Linked DNA regions of Homo sapiens: regions 1, 2, 3, 4, 5 and 7 are each linked to region 6. The links are contacts of gene promoters, found by promoter capture Hi-C in blood cells and fetal thymus (Javierre and others, 2016). All regions are on one chromosome and are shown on one strand. The core of a region is centred on a gene start or on the middle of the fragment in contact, and the rest is flanking DNA. Distances in the headings are between cores, read along the strand shown.

What was found. The method cuts DNA at HindIII sites, captures the fragments that hold promoters and counts their contacts. A CHiCAGO score of 5 or more calls a contact.
Region 1: a contact is called between a fragment that was not itself captured here and the fragment with the promoter of FOXP1 in region 6, in 2 of 17 cell types (naive B cells and total B cells). The highest score is 6.1, in naive B cells.
Region 2: a contact is called between a fragment that was not itself captured here and the fragment with the promoter of FOXP1 in region 6, in 2 of 17 cell types (total B cells and naive B cells). The highest score is 5.3, in total B cells.
Region 3: a fragment that was not itself captured here is called in contact with the fragment with the promoter of FOXP1 in region 6 in 12 of 17 cell types (naive B cells, total B cells, M1 macrophages and 9 more); the score reaches 19.7 in naive B cells.
Region 4: a contact is called between a fragment that was not itself captured here and the fragment with the promoter of FOXP1 in region 6, in 8 of 17 cell types (naive B cells, total B cells, M0 macrophages and 5 more). The highest score is 8.7, in naive B cells.
Region 5: a contact is called between a fragment that was not itself captured here and the fragment with the promoter of FOXP1 in region 6, in 1 of 17 cell types (activated CD4 T cells). The highest score is 5.2, in activated CD4 T cells.
Region 7: a fragment that was not itself captured here is called in contact with the fragment with the promoter of FOXP1 in region 6 in 1 of 17 cell types (total B cells); the score reaches 6.0 in total B cells.

The regions. Positions count from the first base shown.
Region 1 is chr3:71,267,777-71,271,925 of GRCh38, forward strand. The region is part of intron 5 of FOXP1 (forkhead box P1); the gene reads right to left. Among named protein-coding and RNA genes, the nearest start is that of FOXP1-AS1, 20 kb to the right of the region's middle. The HindIII fragment of the contact is 1,167 bases long and covers 679-1,845 here.
Region 2 is chr3:71,285,501-71,289,771 of GRCh38, forward strand. All of the region lies in intron 5 of FOXP1 (forkhead box P1), which reads right to left. It overlaps FOXP1-AS1 (FOXP1 antisense RNA 1), which reads left to right and starts at 4,258. Exons shown (of 5, transcript NR_126463.1): 1 at 4,258-4,271. The HindIII fragment of the contact is 9,286 bases long and covers 1-4,271 here.
Region 3 is chr3:71,087,350-71,091,056 of GRCh38, forward strand. The region is part of intron 7 of FOXP1 (forkhead box P1); the gene reads right to left. It overlaps LOC124906247 (a long non-coding RNA gene), which reads left to right. Exons shown (of 2, transcript XR_007095956.1): 2 at 1-1,366. Among named protein-coding and RNA genes, the nearest start is that of FOXP1-AS1, 200 kb to the right of the region's middle. RefSeq lists an enhancer at 495-594. The HindIII fragment of the contact is 2,091 bases long and covers 801-2,891 here.
Region 4 is chr3:71,160,771-71,164,748 of GRCh38, forward strand. The region is part of intron 6 of FOXP1 (forkhead box P1); the gene reads right to left. Among named protein-coding and RNA genes, the nearest start is that of FOXP1-AS1, 130 kb to the right of the region's middle. The HindIII fragment of the contact is 749 bases long and covers 1,958-2,706 here.
Region 5 is chr3:71,187,915-71,191,753 of GRCh38, forward strand. All of the region lies in intron 6 of FOXP1 (forkhead box P1), which reads right to left. Among named protein-coding and RNA genes, the nearest start is that of FOXP1-AS1, 100 kb to the right of the region's middle. The HindIII fragment of the contact is 2,188 bases long and covers 1,317-3,504 here.
Region 6 is chr3:71,582,429-71,586,571 of GRCh38, forward strand. FOXP1 (forkhead box P1) reads right to left here and starts at 1,300. Exons shown (of 21, transcript NM_001349338.3): 1 at 1,143-1,300. FOXP1-DT (FOXP1 divergent transcript) reads left to right here and starts at 2,515. Exons shown (of 1, transcript NR_182289.1): 1 at 2,515-4,143. RefSeq lists a silencer at 1,173-1,412 and an enhancer at 1,490-1,784. The HindIII fragment of the contact is 2,384 bases long and covers 174-2,557 here.
Region 7 is chr3:71,210,743-71,214,863 of GRCh38, forward strand. The region is part of intron 5 of FOXP1 (forkhead box P1); the gene reads right to left. Among named protein-coding and RNA genes, the nearest start is that of FOXP1-AS1, 77 kb to the right of the region's middle. The HindIII fragment of the contact is 6,766 bases long and covers 1-4,121 here.

The DNA of each region.
Region 1 (4,149 bases), core at 12-2,511, 310 kb before region 6:
GGAGGCCGAGGCAGGCAGATCACCTGAGGTCAGGAGTTCGAGGCCAGCCTGGCCAATATGGTGAAACCCTGTCTCTACTATAAACACGAAAATTAGCCAGTCATGGTAGTGGGTGCCTGTAATCCCAGCTATTCGGGAGGCTAAGGCAGAAGAATCGCTTGAACTTGGGAGATGGAGGTTGCAGTGAGCTGAGATCACAGCACTGTACCCTAGCCTGGGCGACAAAGCGAGACTCCGTCTCAAAAAAAAAAAAAAAAAGTCTGTGCTTTAATGATTTTAAAATTATTTCAGCTTCTTTTTTTTCTTTTCTTTTCTTTTTTTTTTTTTTTTTTGAGACAGAGTCTCGCTCTGTCGCCCAGGCTGGAGTGCAGTGGCACGATCTCGGCTCACTGCAAACTCCGCCTCCCGGGTTCACGCCATTCTCCTGCCTCAGACTCCCGAGTAGCTGGGACTATAGGCGCCCGCCACCTCGCCCGGCTAATTTATTTCAGCTTCTAAATTGCCATCAGCTAGATGAAGGAGGCGGAAAATAATTCTAAAAATCAGATACAGTCACATCACAAGGATAAAGTATTCCAAAATGCTTGAGAACTGACAAATGTATTTCCGAGATTCCAAGGGGCAGGAAAAGCCCCAGAAGACTGGGAAAGTTGGGGGGGTAGTGGGATATAATGAAGAAGCTTCAAAAACTGATGAGCCAAGTAATTAAAACCGATCTTCTTCTCTTCCACACCAGGGGCGATACTGAGGGGAAATAATCTTTTTACCATCACTTTGAGAAAAACAACCAACATGGTTTGCTTGGAGACACATCATGCCAGCCCCTCTGACCAAGTGATAAGACAGGTAGATAAAGGGGAAATGAGAGATGTAATCTTACAGACTTCTGTTAGTCCCCTGATTCTGTCCCTTGTGACATTCTCATCAGTGGGCTGGGAAGATGCAAGCAGGCATACCACACCCAAAGGGCGGTTATCGCTGGTGTGCTGTCAACCTGGGGATGTCTAACAAGTGATGTTCCACAGGTGTCCACCTGTCCACCAGGATGATTTAATATCTCTATCACTGAGATATTAAGAGAGAGCTTCCTGTGCCCACTGAGCCAGCCTGGAATCAAATTCCAGGGTCTCCCTATCACCAGCCTGTATCATTACTTCTTTTATTACCCAACATGTAGCCTCGTGGTTCATCTGTGCAGAAGGAAGACAAAAATCTGGGAAGGTAAATGAACGTAGACAGATAGAAACTTCACTCTGCAGTGGCACCACTACCCATGCAGGCCCTTCCTGGACTCACAGCTACTCAGAGTGGGGTTTTTTTTGTTTTTTTTTTTTTTCATTTAATGGCACATGATGATGCACACAAAACTTCAACTCTCAGTCTGGAATCAGCCCACAGGTCTGCAGCTATAAAAATCATCTCGAAAACATGAGATTTCAGAGATCCAGTTCTCAGTGTTACCTTGAAGATGACAATTTATGAAGAAACAGGTGATTTTAATCCGAAATTGCCAGGAAACAAATTACTCCTCAAAAGCCCTTGGAAAGTAATAAGATAGCTAGGCAGAAAAAAAAAGATTCTGCAAAACTAAACTTAATGTGTATTCATCTAGACCTGAATTAAAAATAAAATTCCACTATAAAAAGAATTTTTCAAAATGTTAGGCCCAAGAATATGGCCATATTGTTCCATCTTGAAGAACCCAGTTGATTCAGTTTCATTACTGGCCTCCCCACTCTTCTAAGTAAGTCCCTCACTATAAACATTTACGAATTCCATCTCAGCATTAGTACTAAACAATATTCATTAAGAATCCCGCCAAAGTGCAACATGTAAGTAAATCAAAGCTTTGATGCTCTATTTTGCAAATTTCACGGGCCACTAGGGATAATTAAAAGGGCAATTATATAAAGTTGGTGCAGTTTTGAGAAACAAATGACATTTTCTGCTTTAAAGCACTTGATAATTTGATATTTTGCTATTAGGGCCTTCATGTGTACTTTTATAGACAGGTAGCCAAATAAACAATAAATGTTCCTTAACAGCCTCTAATGATTGTTTTTGCCCACTGATATCACTCACCATTCCAGTCCATAAATCATATGCTAAGAGATTAAGGTAAAGATAATGAAAAAGTATTAGAAACCAATAAGTTAGAGGCAGGGGGGAAAAGGCTGAAAGTGTTGATTTCTTCTATACTTTTTGCCAAAGCACCTAGCAAAGTCTGAGTTTCCGAGTGCTGGAGTGGGTTCGGTTTGTCACTGTGTTTAACCACCGCTCTGAAGCCAGCAAAGTACATTACAGCTCATGAAAAATACAGCGAAGAAACTGCTCGTGGCAGAAGCATTTAACTTCCTTGTTAGCAGCCTCCCCGAGTGGCACTTTTTCACCAGCAAGTTGTTTATTATGTTCGGTGCCAGGCAAAACTGATTAAATGGGGCTCTTAAGAATCAAAGCGTTATAAATTCATGGAAACACAGCAAGCAATAAATTCCATGGAATTAAAAGCTTACTAGTGCTATTAGCATTTCAGGGTGTTTGAACTGTTAATACTGATGTGCAAAAATGATGTGCCTCTACGACAAGGCAGACCACAGCAACACAAGTGACTGGCTCTAAAAACATTTTATCAAAGTGTCACTGGGACCTGGCAGTTGTTAAAGATACAGGAATGGAGGAGGAGAGTAATTATCTTCAAAATTCTCATTTGCCCTAAAAAGTCAATCCCACAGAAGAGAGAAGGCGCCAAATAAAGGTTTACACACAGGAGAAGAACAAGCATAAAAATATTATGCAAAGGATTTATGCTTTAAGTGAATGAAAATTTCGTCTTAACAACCAAGAGGGATGAGAGTTTTATCCTGTAACCTGGTCTTAGCAGGGATGGGGCCCACCGTGTTTTAACTGGGTTGATCTTAATCTTCTTACAGGACAGATAACCCCAGATCAGGCCCTCAAAAAGTTACCAAGTGGAGTGGACACCTTGGCCAATAAATTTTTCTGGTTTGTCATGTTTCATCTTCGACTCTTTCTGGGGGCGTTATAAAGTCTTATTCTAAAGTGACAAGGGGGGAAATCAATTATTATGCCATTAGGCAAGTTATATTCTCCCTCCCAAGGTGCAAGATATGAAGTAAATGCTACTGCACCCATCTGTTTAAAGAATACTTCTAGCTGGGTGTGGTGGCTCACGCCTGTAATTCCAGCACTTTGGGAGGCCAAGGTGGGCAGATCACCTCAGGTCAGGAGTTCAAGACCAGCTTGGCCAATATGGTGAAACCCCGACTCTGCTAAAAATACAAAATTAGCCGGGTGTACTGGCGCACACCTGTAATCTCAGCTACTTGGCAGGCTGAGGCAGGAGAACTGCTTGAACCTGGGAGGTGGAGGTTGCACTGAGCCCAGATAATGCCACTGCACTCCAGTCTGGGTGACAAGATCGAGACTCTGTCTCAAAAAAAGAGAATACTTCCTTCCAACAGAAACATATCTAAAGATCTGTGGTAAACAAATACAAATGTAGGGAGAGAGAAAAGACAAAAAATTAACAAAGACTTCTTAAAGAATTAGTTTTGTTGATAAAAAGTGTTAACGATAATTTTACTTTTTTGGTAAAAGAAAGAATTGCTGCCCACCAATTCGGTGTGATCACTTGAAAACACAACTTAAGAGAAAATTCACTGTAAATCTGGAATTACCAGATTTCAGGAAAAAAGCAATCTAAAGCTGTCAATCTAGACAGACATCCAAACACCTATTCATCCACTCCAGAGCTGGCCAAAAAAGTACTGTTTATTAACACATCAAGAGAACTTAATTCCTTTGATAAAAGAACCACACGGGTAATAGCATCTACTGACGGATCACTGGTACATATGATTATCTCTGGGGCTATGTTCCACATGTGAATATAACATTTGTACTCACTGAAGCTGTCTGTTGCTTCCCTACAGAGAGACAGAGGCTGCTCACGTACCAAAAAATAGAAAGGAGACAAAGAGGAAAAACCTTACAGGGAGAAACTCATAACCACTAATGTGCTTTCACTGGGCTTAAGTCCAAAGCCATGGATTGTTACAGAAGCAACATGTTACAGGGTGTCTGAATTGTTAAAACTGCTGTCCAAATTGGTTCTGCCTCTAGGACAAG
Region 2 (4,271 bases), core at 1,739-4,238, 300 kb before region 6:
GGGTGAAAAGTGGGCACTTTCTGAGATAAACATTTTCAGATGATGCTTTTCCTATTTAATATTTTGAAACACTTGTAAATTCCCTTAACATAGCTTAGAGAAGAGAATATTAGAAATTAAATCCGAGAAAGGGTCATGTACATAAAAATAATACACCTTGGTTTTCAGTTGGTCCATTTTTTCAACAGTCAACTTTTTAACAGTCAAATTTTAATATTTCCACTTATCTTTGGTATTATATCACAAAAGGAAGGAACTGATGTAGTGGAAGAGGCTGGGAGTCACTACCAACACAGAAATCTACAATTACACAGTGGCCTGGGGTCTGTCATTTCCTTTTCTGTATCACAGTTTCATCTTCAGTAAATATAAGGAATGGGCTACAGAAGTCTGACATTCCTTGGTCCTCTCTGAATCTATAAACCTAAGAATAAAGTCATGTATCACTTCACAATAGGGATAGGTTCTGAGAAACGTGTTGTTAGGCGATTTTGCTACTGTGCCAACATAAGAGTGTACTTAAACCCAGATAGTATGTATATTTTTACTTATATATTTTCATATGGAAAACCGTATGTCCCAGCACTGTTACCTAATGTCAGTCACTTCTCCTACTTTATCTGCAATGACAATACCAAGTGCTATGTATCAGGTATGCTCCATTATAATTTTATGGGACCACAGTCATATATGCAAACCATCGTTGACCAAAACATCCTTGTGTGGCACATGACTGTACTTCATTGATTGGCCATTTGGGGATTTTAGAATTAGATGGGATATCTACCACCATGTAGAGTGTCCCCCGCCACCCCCGCCCCGCCCGCCAGCACACAGCTCAATTTTAAACACAGGGAGCCTCATAGAAACTCAGTAACTACTTATTGCTTAATCAATTAGTAACTATATCACTGAGGTATAGCAAAGAAGAGAACTTAAATTTCATACTCTAAAAGCTGTAACTTTTTTAATTTTACAGAGTTAATCTGAATGAAACCCAACCAAAGCAAAATTTGCAACTATAAACAAATTTATATTAATGGCATGTGCTGGGACAAGAGAATGACTGATATTTGGGATAAATTAAACAATGAAAGTATAAATGGCTCTCCTTTGAAAGATACAAAGTTCCTTATCTAACAAGCTGCAAATCAAGTTGGGGAAGTGGGAAAATATCGAGGGAGAATTCAAATCAGAAACAAAACAAAACAAAACAAAAAACTGCCTACCAACTTAATGTCTAGAAATGTTGTCATCAAAGTTGATACAAACTCTACCTCATGCTATCACAGAAAACACATGTACGCAGAGCCAAGCAATGATTTTATGTGCCTGGAATTCATTTGAATATTATTTAAAAGTAGAGGGAGAAACTAGGTGATTATCTAAAATCACAACATCTTTTATGAAACTCACTCAAGAGACTGAGTTATCTCGAGATGTCCAACACAGACGTAGTTACAATCACAAATAACTGGAAGGAATCTAAAGACCCACCAGTTGCAGGTATAGAAAACACAACAGTGGTAGTAATGAACGTAGCTTTAAAAATAAGATGTAGATATATTAAGTAATAACTTGGGAAAACACTTAAGATCGTTTAATGATAAAAGCAGGAAACAAAAAGAGTACATACAGTAAAAGTATATATAGACAAATGTTTTTAAATATGCCATATATAAGAAATAGCCAGGCAAGGTGGGATTACAGGTGTGAACTTCGGAACTTTGGGAGGCCGAGGTGGGTGGATCCCCTCATCCCAGGAGTTTAAGACCAGCCTGGGGAAAATGGCGAAACCCTGTCTCTAAAAACATACAAAGATCAGCCAGGCGTGGTGGCATGTGCCTGTGGTACCAGCTACTCATTGAGGCTGAGGGGAGAGGATCACCTGAGCCTGGGAGGCAAGAGAATGCAGTCAGCCGAGACTGCACCACTGCACTCCAGCCTGGGCGAAAGAGCGAGACCCTGTCTCAAAATAATAATAATAATAGTAATAGGGCCAAGCGCTGTGGCTCACGCCTGTAATCCCAGCTCTTTGGGAGGCTGAGAGGGGCAGATCACTTGAGATCAGCAGTTTGAGACCAGCCTGACAAACATGGCGAAACCCTGTCTCTACTAAAAATACGAAAATTAGCTGGGCTTGGTGGCGGGAATCTGTAATCCCAGCTACTCAGGAGGTTGAGGCAGGAGAATCACTTGAACCTGGGAGGTGGAGGTTGCAGTGAGCTGAGGTCGTGCCACTGCATTCCAGCCTGGGTGACAGAACGAGACTTCATCCCAAAAAATAAAAATAAAATAAAAACAATAACATTAGGATTTAGTTACAATGTTGAACTGTTTAAATAAGGTTACCAATGAAATTTTTCTCACTACTTCTTCTTCATATATATATATTTTGAGACAGAGTTTTGCTCCTGTTGCCCAGGCTGGAGTGCAATGGCACGATCTTGGCTCACCGCAACCTCTGCCTCCCGGGTTCAAGCGATTCTCCTGCCTCAGCCTCCTGAGTAGCTGGGATTACAGGCATGCGCCACCACGCCCGGCTAATTTTGTATTTTTAGTAGAGACGGGGTTTCTCCATGTTGGTCAGGCTGGTCTCGAACTCCTGAGCTCAGATGATCTGCCCGTCTCGGCCTCCCAAAGTGCTGGGATTACAGGTGTGAGCCACCACGCAAGGCCGCTTCCTTTATTTTTTGTTTCGTAAGTGCATTTAAAATTATCCACAAAGAGAAACTGTCCTTCCTTCATCCAACACCATCTTAACAGTATTTAGCATCCATATAGAGATAATGTGTGTTTTTGTAATTAACCTACCATTTCCTGGATGCTTGAGGATTTGCGACTGGCCAAGAAATCTTGAAAATGTTCAACTGTGTTTCACAAGTTTTGAGAAAGCTAGAATCTGTGATGCTCTTAGGTAATCTGAAAGGCAGATGAACCCATCAAAGACTACCTATATTAGTAAAAGGTAAAGGTGATAGACAGACGTGGCTCAGGCTCAAACTAGTATTTTACTAATCTAGAGACTATGTTAACCACACCAATCTGTGATATACTTCAGATGATTACAATCGACATATTCTAAGTTAGGGCTATAAACACATCCCACTTTCCTCTATGCCTTTTATTTAAACTGCAAATCTCCAAACCATCAGATTAGAGAACGGGTCAAGAGGGACAAAATGCCCAGGATTCCTTTTTCACTGCTCACAGGTTGTACTATGACCCAAACTTCACAAAAATGAGTGCAAGGGGTGGGGGAAAATGTGGTAACTGTAACAAACAAGAATGCTGAACAATTACTATTCCTGGAAAAATAATACAAACCATGTAAGTTCAGCCAGCCAGCAGACTGCTAGTTATATAAAGCCAGTAAATATGATAGGAGTGAGATTCAAACACAACTAACTCTTACTAAGGTCATCAATGACTTCCATATTGACAAATCCAATGGTCAGTTCTTTGTCATCATCTTTTTTGACCACTTGGCAGAATTTGATATGGCTCACAACTCTCTTCTTATTTATTTATTTATTTATTTATTTATTTTTTGAGATGGAGTCTCTCTCTGTAGCCCACGCTGGAGTGCAGTGGTGCGATCTTGGTTCACTGCAACCTCCGTCTCCCGGGTCCCAGTTCAAGCAATTCTCCTGCCTCAGCCTCCTGAGTAGCTGAGATTACAGGAATGAGCCACCATGCCGAGCTAGTTTTTGTATGTTTAGTAGAGACAGGGTTTCCCCATGTTGGCCAGGCTGATCTTGAACTCCTGACCTCATGATCCGCCTGCCTTGGCCTCCCAAAGTGCTGGTATTACAGTCATGAGCCACTGTGCCCAGCCTAATTTTGTTTTTTATCTAGAGACAGAGTCACTATAGTCTGTCACCCAGGCTGGAGTGAAGTGGTTATTCACAGGCAGGATCATAGCACACTATAGCCTCAAACTCCTGGACTGAAGCAATCCTCCTGCCTCAGCCTCCTGAGTAGCTGGAACTACAGGTGTGAGCCCCCATGCTCAGCTTTGTTTCCTACTTTAAACACTTACCTTGATGACTTTCTGGTTCACAATCTCAGAGTTTTCATCCCATCTCTGATCTTTCCTGTTCTCAATATTCTATGACTAAAACTTTTAATGGTGTTGGCTTTTTATTTTTATTTTACTTTTTTGAGACAGAGTCTCACTCTGTCCCTCAGGCTAGAGTATTGTGATGCAACTGTGGCTCACTGTGGCCCCAAGCTCCTGGGCTTGAACAATCCTCCTGCCTCAGCCTCCC
Region 3 (3,707 bases), core at 596-3,095, 490 kb before region 6:
GATCAAACAACGACAACAAAATACCGGTTTTGTCTGGCAAAGGATTATGCAACATATTGATGTAAACGGCATCGAGCCGCATCAGAGGTACTCTGACCATTTCCTTGATGCAACAAATAAGGGCACGCATTCCTTGTCAGTGCATCACAAAATGACAACAAAAGTCATCCAAGGTTTCCTGTTGAGAGATGCCAGCTGGTATTGACAAAGGCTTAAGAGTGTCTTTCTCAGACCTCTGTGGTTTAGCACTTTGTCAAAACAGGATACTATTTAAATTAAAAATTTACTGATTCAAGTTCAGAAAAACCCTGCTTTGCTGTTTTTATAACCAAATTTGTGGGTGGGGAAACTTTGACCTTTATTTTTTCTTTTTTTATGACACCTTATATGGGTCTGAGAAGGTACTATATTTAGCAGGCTAGATTTGAGAACTAAGGTGTCTAAGCAAGATGACTATCACTTTCTATGAATTACTGTACATGTGAAATCATGGGCTTGTTATATTATGCAAAAGCGACTCATGTGAAACAAACAAAAATACCTGTTTGCATGTATAAGTTTTGTAAAATCTTTGTGGGGAGAGAAAGGGGAAATACACACTAGACTAGGCCACGGCATAATGTACCTCCCATGTGAATCTGGCTTAGTGTGCAAATGTATGTTTTCAGAGAAGGCTAAGCCAGGGCTGTAAGACTATGGTCAAAAAAGCAAAGCTGACGGTCAACCATAAGCAGTGCAGTGGTGAGAACCAAGATGCTGGGGAATAGATGGAGTCTCTGGAAATTGCGAAAGAGCAACCAAGCTTGTTTCTGATTGGGGGCTCTTAAACTTGCTCTTCCCCGAACCTGAAACTTTCTTCCCTAGATAGACGCAAGACTCAGTCCCTCACTCAGTCAAGGTCTCTACTCAAAGACCATTTCCTCAGAGTCCTTCCCTGGCCAGCCAGTCAAACATGGGACTGTCATCACCACGGTGTTTATCTTAATCTACTTTGTTTTCTTACAGATTTCATCGTCACACAACATGTGGTGATACATTGTTTTGTTTTTTGTTTTTTTTTTTTTGGCTTACCAGTTTAATGTCCCATAAGAATGTAATCTCCCGGCTGCTTTCTCTGCTGCTCACTCTAGGTGCCTCACTCTAGGTGTCTAGGTCAACACAACCACCCAATAATTTGTCAGATGTTTGTTGAACAGGGAATCTCATGAACAGTCTATTTGAGTTGCGTAAAGGATCTCATTATTTTTCTTGAACTTTCACCTGTCTAGCTAACTATTTATGGGAAAGGTACTAACAAAGTCATTCCAATGATGTCAAAGACTTCTGAGACACCAGAGATGCAGTTAGATATAAATATTAAACTACTTATTTTGCCTTAAAATCACTCTGAGATTATCTTTGAAGGTCTTACAGCTTTGAGAATATGCAACTTCCCATTGTTTAGGGGGAAACGCTGGAGGAAATTTGCATAATTTGAGAAAGAAATCGAACTCACCAAATACCTTAGTGCAGTTCATCTCTTTTGTCAATCTCTCTTTCTTATTAGTACAGGCAAATCTTTTAGTGAAGTGAATAATACTTTGGCCAATGACCTTACGCCAAGAGTACACCAGTGCTCAGGTCACATTTTGACCTTTCTTCCATCCAACATAGCTGAAGGATATGACACTTTATAAACAATTACACTGACTTGCTCTTACTCTGATTCTAAATAGGGCTAATGAGGAGGTTGGAATCAGTGGCACCCAACCTCCGAAACAAGCCCCAAAGATTCTCACCATTTGGTATTCATGCCTTGGATAGTACCTTCCAACACCATGTCAGGGCCGGTCTCTGTGACCAATAAATATGGCAGAAGTAATGGTATGTGATTTCCAAGGCTAGGTCACAACTTGGATCACTCTGGGAAAAGCCAGCTGCCACATCACAAGGGCACTGAAGTCACACTATGGAGAGGTCCACAGCCTGAGAACTTGAGGCCTCCTGCTGACAGCCATGTGAGCGAGCCATCTTGGAAGCGGCTCCCCTAGCCCCAATCATGCCCCAGCCTCACATTTTGACTGCAATCTCATGAGATGCTATGAGCCTGAACCACCCAGCTAAGCCACTCCCCTATCTCTGACTCACAGAAAGTGTGTAAAAGAATAAATGTTTAAACTGTAAGACACTAAGGTTTGGAGTAAATAACAGAGTTATCCAAATCTGATCATGAGGGCAGTTGCATGTCATCTGGCTTGCACACACTTTCTTCCTGCAGGAACACTCTTCCCTGCCCCATCCTTGCCACATGGGGATCACTACTACCCACAGTCCTAGTTAAGAAAGAGGAACTCTAATTTTCACAAGGCAGCCAGTTTAAAAAGACATCAGTCTATAATCAGGGTACAAAGATACAAAGAAATCAAGAATTCCAAAATGCCTGGGCTCTAGCTGGGCCACTATAGCGTGCTGTTGCCTTTGAGACTCTGAGGTGAATCTGTTCATGAAACCTTGAGCCACTTAGAAGAGGGATAGACAGCAGACAGGCAGGCTACTGAAATGAGTTGAAGTCCATGGCAAAGTGGGAATGGGCAGCATTTCTCTGCTCCAGATAACTGGTGCTATGTATATTGCTTGAACTTCTGATTTTTTTCTTTTTTAGGAGATGACAGAAAATGAGATTTTCATGGGAAATCTCCAGATTTTTTAAATCTTTGCAAAGAAAAAGAAAGCCTTCAAAAAGTTCGAACCAAAAAAAGGTTAAATGTTGTGTGCATAAACAAAACAGTATCTAGCCTGCGGGCCATCAGTTTGCAATCTCTAATGGGGAATCAATTCCTTACTTTCTTCAACCTTGCTCCCATCATAAAACAAATCTCTCGATTCCTATTTTCAAGAAATTTCATTTTCTAAGCTTCTTTCACATTTTTCTTGGATATTCCCATGTTTTTCAACTAAACAGTACCTCCCTGTTTGTAACAGAGTTGTCACGATGGCTGTTAGAAAACATTTGCCCCGTTTTTCATAAGTGCAGTATGTAATGTGATAATACAGAAGTGAAAGAACAAGTCTCCTGCAGGTGTGAGGAGAACCACCCTTGGGGGGAAAAAGTAACAGGGCAATGAAGAGTAACAAATTACTCAGTCCCCAGGAGAAGCAAGTCAACTCTAACTAGAAGGCTTGATGAAAAGATAATTTTATAATCCATGCTTCCCTTCCCAACACATCAAGACACAATAAAATGAGCATACTCCCTGATCTTCTTTGCATATATGTAACTATAATGTCAAATAAAAAATAACTGTGCAACTGCCTCCTTAAGAGTGCAGGGAAGAACTAGGAGGGGGTCAGAGTGGGGAAGCATGATCATTGCACTCTGTCTTTTCTTCTCAGCAGTTGCACTGCCATTACAGGAGAGCTAGGGTCCTGCACAGAAGACCTACAGAAGTGAACAATTCACTGTAGAATTTGCAACCCATCTGGCATATATCAAAGATTCAGAGACGATAACATAGGTATATGATAACATAGGTATGGCCATTCTAAATGCACTTCGCTCTGAAATGCATAGGGGGTTGACAACTGCCACTCTCTGCCCATCTACTACCATCAGAAAGCCTCAGTATTATATAAAATTCAATTTTTTGTGTGTCCAGACCACTGTAGGATCTCACAAGTAATAACCCAAACCAACATCATCATAATATAATGATCAGAACAACAGCTAT
Region 4 (3,978 bases), core at 1,082-3,581, 420 kb before region 6:
CTGAGACTTGAAAAATCAGCCAGATAATTAATACAAATGTAGAAACGAAGGCCTCCACAGAGAATGTTACTTGCTCAAATAGTTAATGATCATCTTTCCCCCAACCTCATACCAATGTAGATTGAACTACAGAAGCCTGAGAGAGGTCAGAAGTCACTGAGTCATGGGGGCCTTAGGAAAGACCAAAGACGGGAGTGACTGAACTTAAGGAATTTCCCAGGTACAAAGCATAGAGTATAAACATATTCTAGGAGTAAGATATAGCATAAGCAAAGAGAAGCACTAATCATTTTTGTGGGTTTCTGAGTCACACGTGCCTGACATTTTAGAAGGTCTAAGAAAATGTAGAATAAGAATGGGAGGATAAATTGAGGCTTGCTTTCCAAGGTTCCCGCTTCAGTTCCCTATTCCTTTGTAACAAACTATCCTAAAACGCAGAAGGCTTAAAATAACAATTTGTTTTTTCTCAAAATTCTGGGGATTGGCTGGGCTCAGCTAGGCGATTCTTTGGTTGGGGTAATTTATGCAGCTGCATTCAGCTGGTAGCTCATCTGGGCCTCCAAGATGTGGGTACTTCAGTTCTTCCTGTCTGTCTCTTTCTCTTTCTCATCCTCCCTCCTCTCTCTCCACGTGACCTCTCATCATTCAGCCATTTGGCCCAAGCTTCCTGACACAGCAGTGGCAAGCATGTTCCTACAGAACAAAGAGAAAGCCACCAGGCTTGGAACTGGCACAGTGTCACTTCCACTGCATTCTACTGCCCAAAGCAAGTGAAAAGCGCAGCTGCCCAGAGTAAATGTGAGAAGGCACTTAGACTCTACCTCTTGAAGAAAGGAATGGAAAAGAATGTGTGGCCACTTTTAATCCACCTGATTCCCTGCATGTCAAGCAAGAGAATTTAAGCTCAATTTCCTAAGAAACAGGGAGCAAGACAATGATGCCATCAGAGTTGTGCTTTACAGAGAATAACCAAATTTTGATGAGTGGGATGAACAAAAACAGTGGATACAGAGATCTGTTAAGTGGTTATAATTTTAGCATCACTTAACAACACATTCAGATGTCCTTAGAGGGAATGGGGAAGTCACAAGAACCACTACATAGATAAAAATCAACAGTGATGAGCACCTATAACTGAAGGCACTGGAGAGAAACTGAGCCAACATTCCACATCACAGCAACTAAAAGAAGGATGCATTATTCACCCAAAAGGGAAAAGCTCCCTTAGTATAGATAAGTTTCAGTTCTGGACCAATTGAGGAAAAATCCCTACCCGCAGTTTATGTGCAGAGTCAAAAAGAATAATGATAGCCACAGGCCAATCGAAGTAGACACCAAGCATACAGCCAGATGTACCTTAAGTGCTTTTTAACCTGGTTTCAATCATCACTTACAATTTTTTAAAATTCTGCTGAACAGGTAGCTCCTCTGAATTAGAAAGTTAAACAGCATTTACCATTAGCAAGCCATTATTTGGAGAGCTGAAACCATATACTAAATTACAGGGTATAAGAGATGCTTAGCTAACTGAAACCTGGCCAAAATACTAGGACAAATGCAACTAAATACTAGCCCAGAATTCTGATTAACCACTGCTTCCCACAGCCTTTGTTCATACATCTCTACTGATATAAGCATTGTCCATATGATCCTTTTAGAAGTTTTATTCTGACTGAAGGGGGAGCCAGTACCATTAAGACATCCAATGTTAAGATGGTTAAGACTTTTTGAATAACTGCCCATTCCAATCCAATATCTATTGGGTTCCTACTATTTGTCAAGCACCAAGGATATAGCAGAGAACGTCATAAACAAGGTCCCCACCTTATTGGAACTTACATTCAGTGGCAAAAGTCAAACTGATAGAGACAGGAGGCACAGAAACTTAGACAGGGGCAGGTGTCTGGTGAAGCCCCACCCATTGTTACTTGCCAACATGTGGAAAAAGAACCCAAAAAGCTTCCTTTGGAACATAGTACCCCTTTATCCACATATGTTAATTAATCAAAGCCCACAGATTAATGAGGTAGGAGACCTTGTCTACTGATAGTCTAGCTACTGGGTACTTGAGTTGAAGGCTGATCTCTTCATTTTTATTTTTTACATTTGATAAAATCTTCCCGGTAGCATTTATTATTCCAGTTACGGCTGTCATCATTTTTCCAAGTACCATCATATGTCTTTCCCCATTAGAAGATGTATCAATGCAACAGAAAGAAACTGAAAAAAGCAAGCTGGTGTTCCATCTAAAATGTGTTTTCTGTAATTATATGCACAAACAAATACAAACTAGAAAGAAAACGGACTTTGAGTTAGAGAACTTTGACGGTAACTAGGATTGGTTTCAACCAAAACGATGCACGTGAATAACAGTTAAATTAGTGGATCTGCTTCCCAAATCTTTTTTTCCAGGCACATCCAGGGTATGTCTTTAACAGTCCTGATACTTCAATGAAAAATTGAGGTGCCAATGATTTATAGGTGAAATTAATGTTAAATACTTCAAAGGAGTGGACAAATAAGTCAGCAGCAAAAATTTTATGAGTTCACTTCCTTCAAGGGAACTTAGAGAGCGGGATTTTATTGCTGTGAATTCTGGTCACCCTTTCTACCCCTCAGCATCTGTTTGAAATATGTAGTAGACAATTGCTTTTTTGGCTGTGACTCAGGTGGTGGAAACACAGGACAAACAGACTACTGTATATAAGCTTTCCTCCAGCACTGAAAAATTTTATTAACTCTCTTGCATAGCAAACGTGGCGGCTGCTCAGTGCCCAATCTCTGCAGCATTATCAAGGAATTTGGCTAATTATGAATCGTGCTGGCCAAGCAAGAGGTGACCATGTTGAAACTTGTCAACTCGATATTTTCTCACATTTCAGAACAAGCAGGGAAACAACAACAACAACAAAACCTTATATTCTGTTTAGTTCATCATTCCTATGTGTAAAATTCCAAGTTAAATATTACATGTGAGCTTGCTACATAAATATGTCAGTCTTGCCACCGAGGCCAGCCAAAACAAACAGTTTCAAGCAGTCCCACAGTTTAGAGCGGTAGAGTTTTCATAGAAGCCATGCACTTGCCCCCTTTTAATCAGTTTTTTAAATTTTTCTCCCATGACAATAGAAAAGTTAGAAAGTAGTCCACAGAGAGTGTGGAGAAAGGGCTTGCTCTCCTTCACAATGGCGACTGTGAGAAGATCAAGGGCTGAATGTCTGCCTGGCAGAACATGAGTCTGTCTGTAAAATTCTGCACAGACGAAAGCTCAATCCCATGCCATCAGTCCAATCCCCAAATAAAGAAACAGAGTTGGTTCCAAAGTAATGAGTAGCCTATATAATCAGATGGTTTCTCTTCCATGTTAGGGCTAGAAATAAACATGGATGCTACCTACAACTTAGACTGCTGTACTTATTTATTTATTTTTATTTTTTATTTTTTTTTGAAACAGAGTCTTGCTCAGTCGCCCAGGCTGGAGTGCAGTGGCGCAATCTCGGCTCACTGCAAGCTCCGCCTCCCGGGTTCATGCCATTCTCCTGCCTCAGCCTCCGGAGTAGCTGGGACTACAGGCGCCCGCCACCACGCCCGGAGAATTTTTTGTATTTTTAGTGGAGACAGGTTTTCACCATGTTAGCCAGGATGGTCTCGATCTCCTGACCTCGTGATCTGCCCGCCTCGGCCTCGCAAAGTGCTGGGATTATAGGCGTGAGGCACAGCGCCCGGTCCCGACTGCTCTATTTAAAGTAATGAAAGCACAGTTGGCTCCAAAGGAGAAAACACATTGCTAGAAACAGTGAATGGAATTTGAACAGAAACTTCCCAATATTAATTCCCAGAGACTAATACATTTTTATAGAAAGTCTATTCACAAAAGGGGAAAGATTATTTTCACCAAAATCTTGTAGCTAATCTCTTCACGTGTACACATTTTTTAGAGACCTGTTTTATGTTTTCTTATAATAAATCTATTGACCA
Region 5 (3,839 bases), core at 1,161-3,660, 390 kb before region 6:
AACCTTGTAAAAGGTTGTTGAGTTTGTAAAGGGTATATCAAGAGTGAATACAGGAGGCTATAAAGAGAACTACTTCGTATCATGCAGCCCTGAAAAATTAACACTTAATAATTATAATAATAAAAAGTCACTTTTGCCCTGCTTTAGGATGCTACCTCTTATTTTGTTAATTTTTTCCAAAAATATTCCTTCCTTTGGCTCTGAGAGGCATGACTCTGCTGTTGAAAAGCAAAAGACATTTTACGCACAATTTTCCCTCTACTAGGAAGAGGTATATTGTGCCCTTCAGTGAACATAAAATTGATATTATCATCTCTTAGTTTATATCTCACTACTTAACCTTCAGATTAAAAGTTATTGGATTTGAATGACTAAGAAGACATCATGTCACCTTCCCTTCAATGTGGAGAGACCGAAGTTGAAGATGAGACAAGGTAATGTGATAAAAACACGAATGTAGGATCAGTGGATGCTTTGCCTCTTTTTTTCTTTATTTTTTTTTTCCTTTTTTTTTTTTGAGATGGACTCTCGCTCTTGTAGCCCAGGCTGGAGTGCAGTGGCACAATCTCGGCTCACTGCAACCTCTGCCTCCCAGGTTCAAGTGATTCTCCTGCCTCAGCCTCCTGAGTAGTAGCTGGGATCACAGGTGGATGCCAACACGCCCGGCTAATTTTTGTACTTTCAGTAGAGATGGGGTTTCGCCATGTTGGCTAGGCTGGTCTCGAACTCCTGACCTCAGGTGATCCGCCCACCTCGCCCTCCAAAGGGGATTACAGGCGTGAGCCACCAGCTGCTTTGTCTCTTTTAATAGGTGGCTGTGATACTGACAACTCAGTTGTGTTTGTGTGGATAATAAATTCTGAAATTAATGGTCTACCTGAAGAAACTTTGCTGAAGATTAATATGTGTTAGGAAGTTCATTTTATTTTTGGTACAGTCAAAAAGGAGCTGTCTAACAATAGGGATAAAATAGTTAATTCAAGGGGAACACAGGGTTACCAACCTTAAAAAAAAATCCAATATCCTCCACAGTTGGTATCTGCACTATCAGTTTATGCAGAAGATCCTGCAAAATGTCCACATGGAAGGACTAAAGAGAAAAACAGAGCTTGCTTCCTGCCTTCCCTCTCTGGGCATGGCTAAATTTAAATACACAAAGAAGACTGGGCCTTTATGTCCCCAGGCAGTTTAATCTATACCTCCTAAATGAGTCTTCCAATAGCACCAGCTGTTTAATAATTGCACATTGTACTTTTCCAACAAAAGAAACACAACATACGCTCCCCCACCACCTTAAAAACAAAGTCATTATAAGAAGCTTGTGTCAATATGGAACAAAGACTTTATCAAAGATCTAACTTCATAGTTTTGTTCTCTCAAAGAGATAAGCCCATTCCATGATCAATGGGAACACAAGCATTTTATCAGTACTTCCCATGTGACTTTTGGAAGATGTATTCATTAGTAACTGTCAAAGGCTAAATGGAAAATACTTGATAATTTTAACACAAATAAACATATGCAATCAAAATAGTGAGTTTTAGCTACACAGAATGTCTTTCTGTAGAAGTCTTTTTAAAAAATGACTTTTTCAAAATAAGCCCATCCTTTATTATAAGTTCTTAACCTCCTAGTGGCAGCTAAGAAAGGAGTTCAGGTTCTTCCCCATGCCTCTCTCTTTCTGTTTCATTGGTGCCCCCATTTTGCCAGTCATTAAGATGGAACATCCTGACTCATCATTGGTAACTCCCACTCCTTGGTATTTGCATACCTCATAATTCAAAAGGTCCTGTTTTTCCCAACACTCCCCTCAACAATCTCTTCTTATCCAGTCCTTCCTTTCTCTTTCTGTGTCACTCATTCATAAATAGTCTGTCACAGAACTGCCCTACATCAGGTACTGTGCTGTGTGCTGTGGAAGTACCAGGTAATGAGGAAGGTGATCCCGGCCCCCATTCCCTGATGGAACCTAGACTTCACTAAGGGATTCAGATGGAGGAGGAGATGTTCAAGAAGCCAGGAGGGATCAACAACAGGGTGCCCTCAATTCACTGGGGCCACGTTAGTGGCCGATTACTAAATGTCAGACCAACTGCAGTAGCGCTGTCATGGCCACTCATCTCTCCGGGATTTCTTCCCTTCCAAGCCAGCTAGGTTCAACCTTCTCATTTACTTTTAATACACCACCTCTTATATGATCTTTCTTCTCTACTTAGAACCCTCCCATAAGCCGAACCCAATCTGCCTTTTCACCATCTTCCCATCTTCCTACTGCCTCCATAGTTATTCTTCGGGATCTAGCTAAGTAAACTCTAAGTTATTCTCCCATGTTTTCCTAGCACCTAACATATCAGTTCCCCCTCCACCCCCATTTTCTTCCACATACGGAGGCTCAATAAATAATAGTTAAATGAGGCTGGGTGTGGTGGCACATGTCTGTAATCCTGGCACTTTGGGAGGCTGAGGCAGGAGGATCGCTTGAGCCCAGGAGTTCAAGACCAGCCTAGGCAATATAGTGAGACCCATATCTCTACAGGAAAACAAAAAGAAAAACAACAACAAAAAAAAAACAGCTGGCCTGCCGTCCCAGCAACTCAGAAGCCTGATGGTGGGAGAATCGCTTGAGCCCGGGGAGGTAAAGCCTTCAGTAAGCCATGTAAGCCATGATCGCAACCCTGTACTCTCTGTACTCTAACCTGGGTGACCGAGCTAGACCCCATCTCCAAAAAAAAAAAAAAAAAAAAAAAGAAAAAGTTAAATGAAAATATGCAAATGATCAAAGAAATAAATTGCAGCTGTTTTCTAGTGGAGCTCACTTATGAGCCCACTTGCAACAAAGCTGAGACAAGGTCAGTATGGGAAACTCTTCATGACATTTTCTTGTCGGCAGGGGAGGGGAGATAATGTGGCTCTATTTTTATGAATCAAATCAAACACAGTATTTAGCAAAGGGTCTCTGGAATGTTACAAGTAACACTTCATAATTACAATAGATTTGAGTTCAAAGACAAAGTGATGAAAAGAAACTTTCTAACATGGGGTTCAATTCCCTACATAAACTTCCTTCTTGTGGCTCAGTGTACCACTGGCATTTATATTGCTATTCTTCTTTGTCATAAAAGCAGTCACCTTGTAACCCTTTTTATCAAGTAATCTATGCACTACCTAAAAGTACACTAGACTCCATCAGGCGAGCTATAGGTTTACATTATATAAACATTCCAATTCTGCCTGCTCAGCACTAGTTGTTGATAAACGCAAGCCATTGCAAAACAGCAAAGTAGGTTCCTTGCCTTCAGAGAGCAGATAGGACCTGCCAGTTCTGCAAAAACAAACTCTTGGCAATCACTGAAACTAATCTGTCAACAAATTACCATTAAAGTCATACCTCCTGAAAGTTCAAAAACAGACTTGTGAGTAGACAAGAGATAGGGCGTTCTTTTTTTATGATTATTTTTATTAGCTCACCGGTCAGGGCTTAAAATTATCTTTTCAAAGTGGCAAAGCTTTCTCTTGAAGTCAAGAGGGTACACTTCACTCATAATGAAATGTGGCACCTGGCTTTCTATTACCACATTCTCCTCTGTTACAGGTCTTTTTTCTTCTTTTGCTTCTTGTGCCATTTTAATTTTCAATGGAGAGATTAATGACACATAACTGTTTAGTAATCAAAACTTGAAAGAATTTCATACAAGGCTCAAATCACAAGTTACATAAATCTTTGACAACAATATTTTGATGGAAGGCAGGTCTAAACTAACAGAGTAGAGAACTAAATTTAGCATTCAGGGTGAAATATGCCTTTTCTAGAAACAGCCCCAAAGGGAATTAAGAACATG
Region 6 (4,143 bases), core at 50-2,549:
GCTCCAGGGAGTCGTCTCGGCGGGACAGGAATAGAGCGCAGGGAGCTCGGGAGGAAGGCTGCGCGCAAGCGAGGGACGGAGAGCCATCGGCCGCCAGGACAGGGCCGGAGGGACGAGGCGACACGCGCGCGACGCAGGACAAATCGGAGCTTGGGAAATCTCCCCGTCCCCCAAGCTTCAGAGGGGGGTAAAATCAGAAAATGTGTGTGATGGTGGGAGAGAGATCCGGGCGCGGCGACTCCTCGCAGCGCATCCGGCTCCCGCACCCACCCGTGGATCTGGCCACGGCTGTTGCGGACTCGTCTCGGGAAAGCGGAGGCCGAGCGCGCGTAGGGGTGCGTGTCTGGCTGGGGGTGCGCAGGTGCGTGTTTGAATTTTCCGGGCTCCGAGGGGGTGGCGGGAGAGCTTCCTCGCCGCTGACTCTCGGGGTAACGCGCGCGTGGCAGCGGGGAAGTTCCCCAGTGCGGGGCCCAGGGCCAGGCACCACAGTCAGTTTGCTGGGGCCCGCGGGGCAGCTCAAGGGCACCGAGGGGGCACACACCCGCGGGGAAAGAAGGGGAAAAGTTTGCTCCAAGTCTAAACTTTGGGCCTAGGAGGCGCCCGGCGCGCGCCCCCTCCCGCCGCGGCCAGGACCCGGGACCCCGCACCGGCCCCGCGCCCGGGCGGCCACCGGACGCCAACGCCGGACATCGAAAGTTGCGCCAGGCGGCCTGGGCTTATTGATTTCTCTCCCCTAGGCGATCGTGGAGAGCGCAGAGAGAGGCGTGAAGGGGCCTACGGGCAGGCGATCTCGCCTCCTCACAGTCGCCACCGCCCCCGCCCCCATTTGACTTATGCAAATAAACCCAAAGGGTGCGGGCGCCGCCGGAGCTCCCTCCACCCGCGCGCCGGCCCGCAGCCCCCACCCATCCCAGAGCTGGGCCTCGACCCGGGGGGGAGAGGAAGAGAGGGGAGGGCTGGGGGAGATGCACGTGGAGCCTGGAGGTGGAAAGTAGTTGTTTTTTTTTTTCCATTTTTTTTCTCTTTTTCTTTCTTTCTTTTTTTTTTTTTGTGCTGGTTGTTGTTGTTGTTTAAAGTGGCGGAAACAAGACAGGAGGCGGCTTGGGAAAAAGTGGAGCAGAAATGGAAAAATACAAACTCACCCGCTGCAAATGGTCTCTCGGTGCAAACTAAGGTGTTTTCGGGCCTTTCCCCGCGCGCGCCCACTCCCGCCCGCGCGCGCACCCCGCGCACACACTCACTCGCGCACACACGCGCGCACACACGCACTCCCGGGCGAGGGCCGGGCCGCCGCGAGTACAGCGTGCAACCGCCACACAATAAATAACAATAGATTCCTCCGCTCCGGACTAGCTTCCCGGAGCCCAGCCAGCGCCGGTGGCGGCGGCGGCGGCGGCAGAGGCGCGGGCAGCACCGGCCCGGGGGCGCACCCCGGCCCGACCCTCTACCTCCCGCAGGGGTCCCCTCTCCGCTTCACGCACCCCGCTGGGCACTCCAGCGGCCCCCCGAGCGGGAGCGGCTCCCTCTTTGCCGTTCGCCGGGGCGCTGGCGCCCACCCCCCTCCTCCCTCCCCCCTCCCCCCCGACATCCCGGAACAAATAAATAAATAAGGCGCGCGAGAGAGGCCAACACGTCGCGGAGGGAGATGTTGTTATTTTTTGCTGTTGTGCGTCCCTGACGTCACATCCACCTGCTGGGTAAACAACCGGGCTCCCAGAAAAAAAAAATCGCAATTGCCAAAGAATGGGGGGGGGGGTTGGGGGGAGGGATCCAGGGAGGGGGAAGTGAGGGGCGTCCAGGCAGGATTGGAAAGAGGAGAGGGAGGCAGAGCCCCGCGGACCAGAGAGAGGAAGGGAACGCCAGAGCAGTCCCTGGCAACAGAGGGATCTGGCAGGAAAGACCTGGAAAATAAGGGGCAGGGGGGCGGAGGGGGAGATTCCTCAGGAGATGGGAAATGGGGGGCCCATTCAGACAGCGGAAAAAACGAGAAGGGAGAGTGTTAACTAGGGACGAAGATGGGAATGCGATGGCTATTTGCTTGGATTCTGAGCTAAAAATATGAAAGGGAGGGGAGAGGACAGGCTAGAATGTGAGTTTCCTCCAGTTAAAAGTGAAAGTGTTTTGCCATCAGTGACAGTTGAAGGAGAGCGGGGTGGGAGGTGGTGTTTTCAACCCCCTTTCTCCCTCTCTCCCGTCCTCCCTCGGTCTCTCCTCTTTCTTTCTGCACTTTGTCCAATGAAAGAAGGCGAGTTCGGGAGGTGAAAGTTCAGCAGAAGGACAAACCCCTGTTTGCAAGGAAACAGAAACCCCGCCAGCCAGCGAGGGGTTTTCTCCCCTGTTTCTCGGAATCAGGAGAGTGTGAATGTGGGACGAGCTTCTGCCCCCTTGTCAGAGCCACTGCAGGAATGTGCAATCGAGTCCACTTTGGGGGAAGGTGGCTGCATCAGGAACTGTGTTCTTGCCACGACTCCTCTTAGGAAAACGCCTGGGGGCTAGCATGTCAGTCCGTTGTTTAACACAAATTACCTGCTCTCCCAGTGATCAGTCACGTGCAAAAAGCTTTGTCCAATTCTTTGAAAAGGTGAGATTTTTTTTTTTCTTTTTGCGGTTTTTGAAGTTTGGTTGAATTTAGAAATTCGAAGGAATAAACTAAGAGCCTGAATTAAATGTTTTGAAATATACATACATAAAACAAAAGACACTAGTATTTCTTTCACTTTTATCAATACGCATAGAGAAGGAAGCAGAGTATGTGTTTCCAAAACGTGACTTGGAAAGCTGTAAGACCTCTATGTCTTGTTGTTGTTGTTGTTGTTGTTGTTAACAGAAGTAAATTTTTTCAGACCCACCACCACAGAAGTGGCCAGACTCCCAAACCAGCATTTCCAGCTACTGGCTGGCTGGTGTACACCAGGCCAATTCTTTATGAGAATATATTAAAAGTCACCCCTGTGGATTCCTACAAAGTACTTCCCCTTGCGGGGAGGGGAGAGGCTTACTGTCCCTTTGGTCTTGAGACCAGCACAGTTGTAGATAATATCCTGAAAAGGTTATTATTAAATTCTTTCGCGTAATGCCCCTTTACAAATATTGTTAAACATTAATTTACAGAAGAACTTAAATCTTAATTTCAAGGGTGGCATAAGACTATCGCTTTGAAATTGTATCTTTCGCAAGTTAAAAAAAAAAAATAACAAAGCCATTCGCTGATGCTACAGAATAAAAGAAAGGGAGGCTGCTAAGGTAATTTCAGCCTGGTAGAATTCACATTGCATGCATGCTGCATAAAGTTCCATGCTATCCAGATAAGACTATTCACTGAATCTTTTAGACTAGAATCTAGACCAATAAAATGCATTTTAGTTTGTATGGAATGTCCTAGCTTCCTAGAGGCTAGGGTTCGACGTCTTGTTTGTCAAGACATAAAGGGATTAATGACATACCCACTGTGTGCTAGACCACAGAGTGGGCACAGAGGGATGAAAAAATAAAAATTCCTGCCCTTGAGGAGCTCACAGTCTAAGCTGTCAATAATAACATCTAACATTTATTAAATACTATGATCTAGGCACTGAACTAAAAGCTTTATGTCAACTCAGTTAATACTGCCAACAACTCTTTGACATCACTGGAAATTCCATATGCTGAATTCACACGGAATTAAGTGGAAATCTACAAAGTAGCCAGTCTACTGGTTCTGTAGTGGTCAACCTATTAAAAATGGTTTTTAATTTCTAAAGTACTTTATGCCAAATATAACATGTTTATGGTATATGCCTGACTGTAGAATTATAACTCAGGGGAATAACGACTTATTTAAATGTAACAGATCTATTCATAGTCTGTAAAGAACAATTCATCCTCTGATCTTGTTTTTCAGATTAAGCAGTGTGTTTATTAAAAATTATTATCATCGCAATACTAAAAAGATCTTTAGATTGCTGCTAATCTGATTCTGCATTTTAACTGCCTTAAATTCTACATTCACTTGCAAGTGGGGGCCACAGTCAGGTTGGCAACAAGTTTTGCAGACAAAAGGAAATCCTGGTTGTAAATCCCATGATATATTGTACTCAATTTTGTATGATACTGTCTAATGTGCTGTGCTGCCTTATTAAAGAACTCGATGTCCATTTGGTTTAC
Region 7 (4,121 bases), core at 808-3,307, 370 kb before region 6:
CAACACCCCAGTGAAAACCTAAGAGAAAAACAAAATGAAAAAGTCAAAGTGGAGGGCTGTGTCCTGGTATCCTCACTGTCCTGTCTTCAGGAGAAAATGCTGATGATTCACTCTCTGCACTTCAGCTCTTGTCCAGTTCTCCTGAGCTTCAGTTTTTATTTTCTTTTCCTGAACCCTGGATGAACCAGAATATTAGTAAAGGATTATAAACATAGTTGACAATTCTAAATGGTAATCCAAAGAGTTGTAACAATTTCCCTTCATAAAGGGAAATCATAATTGAGTCCTGGAGTTTTGAAAACTAGGCTAAACCTGGGCATATAATCATTGCTTGAATGGGGTACTCTTTTCTGTTTGAAGATGGTTTCACCTATTCCTTATCACGAGCAGGATAAATAATGTGTCTTCTTTCCTCTTCCCCAGCAGTGGTGTTACACTTGCCCTAACCCACATTTAGTTCTATTTTTCCATTTTTATTTTTGAGATGGGAGTCTTGCTCTTTTGCCCTGGCCAGAGTGCAGTGGCGCAATCTTGGCTCACTGCAACCTCTTCCTCTTGGTTCCAGTGATTCTCCTGTCTCAGCTTCCCGAGTAGCTGGGATTACAGGGGTGTACCACCAAAACCGGCTAATTTTTGTATTTTTAGTACAGACAGGGTTTCATCATGTTGGCCAAGCTGGTCTCCAACTCCTGACCTCAAGTGATCTTCCCCCCTTGGCCTCCTAAAGTGCTGGAATTACAGGTATAAGCCACCATGCCGGGCCCACATTTAGTTTTACTTCTATGTACCCAGTTTACTTATTTTATTCCCCATGAATCCCAAATTGTAAAAGTTTTATTTTTAAAAAAGTACATTAAGAAGGCTTTTATATAAGCTGTTCAACAAATTATTTTTAAAATAGAAAATAGTTCTAAAGAGGCCTTGGGCTAACTCAAGATTGGGAAGGACTGATTTTTCTTTTCACAACTCCTCCCCAGAATGAAAATCTTACAAATTCTGAGAATCTCAGAAAGGTTGTGGCATCTTAGTGGACACCGGAGCTAGTTTCCCAAGCCCCATGCATTCACTTTTACTTCTGTCTTCATTATTTTCACCATCTCCATCCACATCTACCATATTGTTATTTTAAAAAATGATTCACTTTTGATAAATAAATCTACCTTCAGAGGAAACTTTGTATCACTTCTTCAAATGGAAAACCAGTATGTAACCCTTTGTAGGTGAGAAAGACTTTTATAATGCATGTTATAAAACCTAACCAATGATATTAAATTCTGCTAGAACCTGCTGTTTCTCAGAGGCTCTGAGTGGAACCATGTTCTTTCTTTGTTAAATAATGAGCTTACAACTGGGAGAGACAGATTAAAGATACTAGTACCAAATTGAGACTTTCTCCTTGGCTTTATCAGAAGGATTAAAAAAGAATTGAAAATGGAATTGCTTCAACATTGAACCACAGTAATGCGAATTGGTGAATGATTTACGAGCCACCAAAAAATCCTCTCCCAACCTATCCGTGAGTGGTACAAGGCTCATATATTGGGCAACTGAGCTACAGGAGACTTAAGAGACCCTCATGAACCTCCACGCTATAATCTTGACCCTTAAGCACTGGATTCCTAACAGTGCAATTCACAAAGCACGTACTGAGGGGCTACATGGACACTTACACTGCTAAAGACATAATCAACCAAGAAGCCAGATTCTTTACACTTGCCCCCAAACCAAATGAGGCTCCTAGTTCATGGGTATTACGCTTGTAGAAGACACCCTAAAAACCAGTAGCTCCAACAATGAGCCTCCCATCCAGGCCTGCCTTTTCTCACACCATCAAAAAACTTGTGCATCAGCCACTTAAGTCATGCCGCCTTTCCACAATACAAGTTCAGAGTTTATTTAGTAGCAAGTAACTACTATAAGAACTATAAGCATATCATTCAAATGCTTTATTGGTCAAAAAGATGAATGCTTTTATTAATCCAACCTTTTTGTAATGGAGTGCCACTGATGACCCAGCATTAGCCTCATTCCCTGCTATTAATCACACTTCTAAGAGCTCATTTTGCCTTAAAATCTTAAGAAATTGCTATAATTTAAAGACATGGTGTCTACGTAATGGGAAATGCTTCATAGATTGTATCATTTCAGAAAATACAGTATATTTTTATGGGAACAATGACATGATGCTAAGGAATTACAAAATGGGAATATATATATATATATATATATATGAATGAATAAAAAGAGAAAAATGTAAGCCTCCTTTCGTATTTGTAGCTTCCCACATCTGTAAACTTTAATCACTACCTTTGTGAAGTCCATTAATCCAAAGGCATGGGCATATAGTTTACATAGATTAAATCCAAAATAACACTCCCAAACAAATGAAAATTAAATGAAGGGAGAAACTCTAATGTAAAAAGAAAGATGTGGAAACACACGGTGTGTTTTAAGAAAATTCCATCAGTGGTATATTCCTCATTCATCATCTGTAATTCCTGTGCCTTGTTTGTCCATGTGAAGACAACTAAGGCAAGCCCTTCAGTAAAGGATTCAGGACAAACTACAGGCATCTGCCTATTTACATTCAGCAGAATTTTAACAATATAATGATGTCCTTAACACATAAGACCTTTTCTCATTAAGCTACCCTTCAAGACCATTTAACACAGCTGAACACTATAAAGAACTGTATCTGAAAGAGTTTTTTCAAAATACAGAGCTAAAGTAAATCTTTTTTAAGGCACCCCTTCAATTTTTACCACCACACAATTCAAATGCAGCATACACATGGCCGGGCATGGTGGCTCACGCCTGTAATCCCAGCACTTTTGAGAGGCCGAGGCAGGCGGATCACAAGGTCAGAAGTTCGAGACCAGCCTGGCCAATATGGTGAAATCCTGTCTTTACTAAAAATACAAAAATTAGCCGGGTGTGCTGGTGGGTGCCTGTAGTCCCAGCTACTCGGGAGGCGGAGGCAGGTGAATCGCTTGAACCCGGGAAGTGGAGGTTGCAGTCAGCCAAGATCGTGCCACTGCACTCCAGCCTGGGCGACAGAGCAAGACTCCATTTCAAAAAAAATAAAATAAAAATAAAATGCAACATACATATGTATATATTCAAATCTTACAAACACATAAAAATGGTAACATTGTGTTACATGATGAATGAAGGGTGCAGTGGGTTCCAATCAGGTACTACGATGATGAATGGATCTAGAGTGAATGGCTGGGAAGTACAAAGAATCAGTCGGCCTAAAAGTCAAGAATGCAGATATTGTCCCTACAGTTAGCAAGGATTGAACTTGGAATCTGAGAAACAGCCAGAAGCTGGTGATAAAGCGTACTTAGGTGGAGCTGGGACAAAAGCATCTGCCTGCTTGGTGAGAGGCAAGTCCAGCTCTGGCTGAGGGGCCCCTTTGCACAGAGATATGCTCCGCCCATCCATCCATGTGCTATCATGTGGTCTAAATAAGCACCTAGACCTTGGATCTCCCCCATGGGGAAGTGCTGAGCCTGGGAGGAGATTTAGAAAGAAACAGAAGTCCTTTATCAAGCTACCTTAATCATGCTGTCACGAACATGCCAACGAGAAAGACAGGGCTTGAGGTGCCCTGAATAGGTAGAACAGGTACCAACAGTGGGGCCACTTCTCTTTGCCTGCTGAGTGCTGGGGCCACTGGATGACTACAGGGTCAACGGCGGGACCATCTGATGTCTGATAATGCCAGATTCTCAACAGGATTCATTCATCAACTAAACACCCAAAGAAACTTTTGAAAGGGTGTTGCTACTCCCTGGCATGCCCATGGTAGCTGTGAGGGGTGGAGGTACTGGACATCTTTGGGACAGGAACAACACTCTAAAATAGGGAATTAAAATTACTAGTCTTCTTCACCTGTAAACGGAGACAACAGGGCTCCTAATAACGAGCATGCTAAATACCTGAGTTAAGATTCATCAAAGATCACAGCCATTGTTGATCACGTTCTCCCCCAAAAGAGAGAGAGGAGCGGGGGAGAGAGGATCATAACCTAGGCACAACCAATTGATGAGAAGAGCCAGTGCATTTATCCAAGAGTAGACCCCTGTGGCACCTTCCAGAGGAGACTAGTACAAGGG